Linked DNA regions of Homo sapiens: region 1 is linked to region 2. The links are contacts of gene promoters, found by promoter capture Hi-C in human tissues and cell types (Jung and others, 2019). All regions are on one chromosome and are shown on one strand. The core of a region is centred on a gene start or on the middle of the fragment in contact, and the rest is flanking DNA. Distances in the headings are between cores, read along the strand shown. Region 1 has its middle 82 kb from the start of LPCAT1. Region 2 holds the start of TERT (telomerase reverse transcriptase).

Region 1 (2,700 bases), core at 171-2,670, 310 kb after region 2:
GACAGGTATATGTACATAGAGGTATTCGGAAAGGTCGGAATTACTGAAAACTAGTGTTACAAAAAGCAAAGATGGGCTACAGAGAACCCACAAGGCAAAGAAAGAGGAAAACTCTAAACACCAAGGAGCATCCCTGCCTCACCCAATTCCATCTGGTCTCCCCCATTCTTCACCGCTGTGTGCAGCAACCTAGTGTCTGCACACAAGGGTGACCTGCTCTGACCCAGCGCTGACAAGAAGCCCCAGGAGCCAAAGCCCCTGGAAGCCTCCTGGGCAATCAATCCTCTGTCTTTATGCCATGAGCTTCTTCTCCTCTGTCTTCTGCGTCCGTGGCCCTGGACTGACTGTGTGGAGCTGGATGAGACCTAAGTCCTCAAGTGAAGGCTGCACTGTGACGTGTCCTGATCATAAGTAGAAGCTTCTCTGGGCCATCTCAGCAAATAACACGGTCAAACAAGTTTTAAACCAAAGCAACACAGGTTAAAACACAAGCGAGATGTTAATGCCACAGCACAGGCACAGGGAAGCTCAGGTGCCATCTGGACGGGCACGCATGGAGTGTGCCCAGATGGTGCATTCCTGAGAGCTGGGGCCCAGGAGGAACCGGACGGCCATACTGGGGTCTTCCGGAGTATTCTAAGGATTGCCCAGGAGAGCAGAGGTTGTCCCGGGATTAATCAAGGATGAGAGAGAGGCAGCCACCCCACCAGAAAGGGCCGCTGAGGGATGGACACTCCTGATGTCTCCACTCGCCTTCCTTGCCAACCACAGCGGGGTCTGGCTTCTCCACAGAAACCAAGAGAGAACCACCACAAGGCCTAACGGCCCATAACGAGCTGAAGCACCATGGCGCACAGGCATTTCACGCCTCGGTTACATTAGGTGCTAGACATACCTGGGCAACCGCCTGAAAACCTAAGTAGATGCTGTGCTTTGCCCAAGGCCATGGAGTCACTTGTCACCAAATCCCAAGCCTTCCCCTGAAGCCCTGCCAAGGTGAGTTTTTGGTGAAAGCACGAAAGACTGCATGGGGGTCCCTGAGACCACCCTCCAACTTGAAAGGGTACAGAGTAAACCAGCCAAGGGAAAGGGCTGCCAGGGAAGCCAGGCGCTTCCAGAGTCCCTCCCAGCGGAGTCACACAGGGTGCACCGGATTCCTCCAGCAAGAAGCTGGGACAGCTAGTGCCGTGGTGCGGACCAGGGAGGCTCTCCTGAACCTGGGGGTCAGTCAGGGAAGTTCCAGCCACCCACAGCGAAAGCAGGTGTTTGCCATCCATCACCTTGTTGGTCAACTACCCAGGCAAAGTAGTGCAACATGGCTCCAGTCTCTCTCATCAGTCAGAACACTGCAGGAGCTCAGCTCCCAGGAGCCAGCCAAGGGCCCCTCCTGGGAACGTGCAGGGTTTGAGCAATCCACACCCGCTGAGTTAAACCCTTCCCACATAGGCAGATCAAATCTGCTCCATCACCAGGGGCAACAAATACCATCACCCACATCCCTGGGCCCATGTGAGAGAAGGACAGTGATGGGAATGGACATGTACTTCACAGGGCACTGTCCTGCTTCTGAGGTCTGATTTTTCTCAGTTCTCTTTAATATGGGATCTCCAAGAGAGCCTCAACTGTATTTGATTAAAAAAAAAATACCGGCCGGGCGCAGGGGCTCACGCCTGTAATCCCAGCACTTTGGGAGACCAAGGTGGGTGGATCATGAGGTCAGGAGTTGAGACCAGCTTGACCAACATGGTGAAACCCCGTATCTACTGAAAATACAAAATTAGCCAGGTGTGGGGTGCATGCCTGTAATCCCAGCTACTCAGGAGGCTGAGGGAGGAGAATTGCTTGAACCCGGGAGGTGGAGGTTGCAGTGAGCCAAGATTGCGCCATTGCACTCCAGCCTGGGCGACAGAGTGAGACTCCATCTTAAAGAAAAAAAAAACCTTCAAAAGAATATAAAAATTATTTCTTAAAGTACAGCTTTAAAAATGCCCCTTAAAAATACATCAATGTTATATTAAGGCAAACCTACTTCAGAAGCACAGAGACCTTGAAAAAAGTTAATTTCTTGTAATTCCAAGATGTTTTGGGAATGAGAAATCAGCACAGAAAATGGGCTAGGAGGATAATGGATGAAACCCGATGGGCTGATCATGGTTCCAAGATGGTCTCGCCATGGAGGTGACAGGGTGAGTGCTGCAGTGCAGGACTGGGGATGCCACAGGAACGGGTGCCCCAGGTAGGGCGTCATCCAGGAAGGATGAGAAACCTGAGAACAGCTGGGTGGGAGCAGCTGGGGGGGAGCAGCTGGGGGAGAACAGCTGGGGGGAGCAGCTGGGTGGGAGCAGCTGGGTGGGAACAGCTGGGTGGGAGCAGCTGGGTGGGAGCAGCTGGGGGGAGTAGCTGGGGGGGAGCAGCTGAGGGGGAGCAGCTGGGGGGAGCAGCTGGGTGGGAGCAGCTAGGGGGGAGCAGCTGGGTGGGAGCAGCTGGGTGGGAGCAGCTAGGGGGGAGCAGCTGGGGGGAGTAGCTGGGTGGGAGCAGCTGAGGGGGAGCAGCTGGGTGTGAGCAGCTGAGTTGGAGCAGCTGGGGGGAGCAGCTGGGGGGGAGCAGCTAGGGGGGAGCAGCTGGGTGGGGGGCAGGGTCCGCTGGCTGCACGGGGGTGGGGAGAGGAGCCCATGAGGGCCTGAGAGCAGCGAGGCCGGG
Region 2 (2,700 bases), core at 1-2,500:
GCCAGTCAGGCTGGGCCTCAGAGAGCTGAGTAGGAAGGAGGGCCGCAGCTGCTCCTTGTCGCCTGAGGAGTAGAGGAAGTGCTTGGTCTCGGCGTACACCGGGGGACAAGGCGTGTCCCAGGGACGTGGTGGCCGCGATGTGGATGGGGGGCCCGCGTGGTGCTGGCGGCCCACGGATGGGTGGGAGTGGCGCGTGCCAGAGAGCGCACCCTCCAAAGAGGTGGCTTCTTCGGCGGGTCTGGCAGGTGACACCACACAGAAACCACGGTCACTCGGTCCACGCGTCCTGCCCGGGTGGGCCCAGGACCCCTGCCCAACGGGCGTCCGCTCCGGCTCAGGGGCAGCGCCACGCCTGGGCCTCTTGGGCAACGGCAGACTTCGGCTGGCACTGCCCCCGCGCCTCCTCGCACCCGGGGCTGGCAGGCCCAGGGGGACCCCGGCCTCCCTGACGCTATGGTTCCAGGCCCGTTCGCATCCCAGACGCCTTCGGGGTCCACTAGCGTGTGGCGGGGGCCGGGCCTGAGTGGCAGCGCCGAGCTGGTACAGCGGCGGCCCGCACACCTGGTAGGCGCAGCTGGGAGCCACCAGCACAAAGAGCGCGCAGCGTGCCAGCAGGTGAACCAGCACGTCGTCGCCCACGCGGCGCAGCAGCAGCCCCCACGCCCCGCTCCCCCGCAGTGCGTCGGTCACCGTGTTGGGCAGGTAGCTGCGCACGCTGGTGGTGAAGGCCTCGGGGGGGCCCCCGCGGGCCCCGTCCAGCAGCGCGAAGCCGAAGGCCAGCACGTTCTTCGCGCCGCGCTCGCACAGCCTCTGCAGCACTCGGGCCACCAGCTCCTTCAGGCAGGACACCTGCGGGGGAAGCGCCCTGAGTCGCCTGCGCTGCTCTCCGCATGTCGCTGGTTCCCCCCGGCCGCCCTCAACCCCAGCCGGACGCCGACCCCGGGGAGGCCCACCTGGCGGAAGGAGGGGGCGGCGGGGGGCGGCCGTGCGTCCCAGGGCACGCACACCAGGCACTGGGCCACCAGCGCGCGGAAAGCCGCCGGGTCCCCGCGCTGCACCAGCCGCCAGCCCTGGGGCCCCAGGCGCCGCACGAACGTGGCCAGCGGCAGCACCTCGCGGTAGTGGCTGCGCAGCAGGGAGCGCACGGCTCGGCAGCGGGGAGCGCGCGGCATCGCGGGGGTGGCCGGGGCCAGGGCTTCCCACGTGCGCAGCAGGACGCAGCGCTGCCTGAAACTCGCGCCGCGAGGAGAGGGCGGGGCCGCGGAAAGGAAGGGGAGGGGCTGGGAGGGCCCGGAGGGGGCTGGGCCGGGGACCCGGGAGGGGTCGGGACGGGGCGGGGTCCGCGCGGAGGAGGCGGAGCTGGAAGGTGAAGGGGCAGGACGGGTGCCCGGGTCCCCAGTCCCTCCGCCACGTGGGAAGCGCGGTCCTGGGCGTCTGTGCCCGCGAATCCACTGGGAGCCCGGCCTGGCCCCGACAGCGCAGCTGCTCCGGGCGGACCCGGGGGTCTGGGCCGCGCTTCCCCGCCCGCGCGCCGCTCGCGCTCCCAGGGTGCAGGGACGCCAGCGAGGGCCCCAGCGGAGAGAGGTCGAATCGGCCTAGGCTGTGGGGTAACCCGAGGGAGGGGCCATGATGTGGAGGCCCTGGGAACAGGTGCGTGCGGCGACCCTTTGGCCGCTGGCCTGATCCGGAGACCCAGGGCTGCCTCCAGGTCCGGACGCGGGGCGTCGGGCTCCGGGCACCACGAATGCCGGACGTGAAGGGGAGGACGGAGGCGCGTAGACGCGGCTGGGGACGAACCCGAGGACGCATTGCTCCCTGGACGGGCACGCGGGACCTCCCGGAGTGCCTCCCTGCAACACTTCCCCGCGACTTGGGCTCCTTGACACAGGCCCGTCATTTCTCTTTGCAGGTTCTCAGGCGGCGAGGGGTCCCCACCATGAGCAAACCACCCCAAATCTGTTAATCACCCACCGGGGCGGTCCCGTCGAGAAAGGGTGGGAAATGGAGCCAGGCGCTCCTGCTGGCCGCGCACCGGGCGCCTCACACCAGCCACAACGGCCTTGACCCTGGGCCCCGGCACTCTGTCTGGCAGATGAGGCCAACATCTGGTCACATCCCGCCCGCACAGGGTGGAGGGCAACCTCGGGGTCCAGGCACCTGGCTCCAAGCCTCGGACTGCAGAGCTAGGAGGCCCGACTTCCAGCCCAGCAGTAGAAGCCACACGGCCACTGGTCCCCTCCAGACCTGGGGCCCCGGCACAACCGCAGGACAGCTGAGGACTTCCCAGGAATCCAGACTCCGGGTTGCTCAAGTTTGGATCTAAGGGGCGAGAAACTTCTGGGTCTCCCGAGGCCTTGCAGGGATGCTGTAGCTGAGGTCGGCAAACACTGAAATGCTAACAAACGCAACCTTAAATGTAACCTTTCCTACTTTCAGAAACTGCCGGAGGAAATTGCTTTATTTATGGAGCTAGCATTTGAACAGGCCTCGCACCCTCCCTGGGCTGTCACGCTCGCTGGAGGTTAGCCTCGTCTTGTAAATACTTAGGATTACAGGTCGCTCTTCTAGAAATCCCCTTAGTGATCCCTAAGCCTTTTTAAAGGGCTGTGTTTGTGAATTGTCTCTGCCACTAGGGCAAAGGGGCGGTTTGGAAAATTTGTTCCAACAAAAGTTAAGTTGTAGCTTACACTGGTTCTCTGC

What was found. The method cuts DNA at HindIII sites, captures the fragments that hold promoters and counts their contacts. A contact is called where the count stands out against the background at its distance.
Region 1: a fragment that was not itself captured here is called in contact with the fragment with the promoter of TERT in region 2 in 2 of the 25 tissues and cell types used here (heart left ventricle and spleen).

The regions. Positions count from the first base shown.
Region 1 is chr5:1,604,434-1,607,133 of GRCh38, forward strand. It overlaps the pseudogene PDCD6P1. Among named protein-coding and RNA genes, the nearest start is that of LPCAT1, 82 kb to the left of the region's middle. The HindIII fragment of the contact is 7,274 bases long and covers 1-2,700 here.
Region 2 is chr5:1,293,818-1,296,517 of GRCh38, forward strand. It overlaps TERT (telomerase reverse transcriptase), which reads right to left and starts at 1,251. Exons shown (of 16, transcript NM_198253.3): 1 at 954-1,251; 2 at 1-849. The coding sequence starts at 1,172. RefSeq lists promoters at 811-2,700, 811-1,502, cis regulatory regions at 816-1,172, 1,175-1,207, 1,277-1,285, 1,297-1,305, enhancers at 1,199-1,241, 1,212-1,928 and silencers at 1,338-1,407, 1,508-1,597. The HindIII fragment of the contact is 7,642 bases long and covers 512-2,700 here.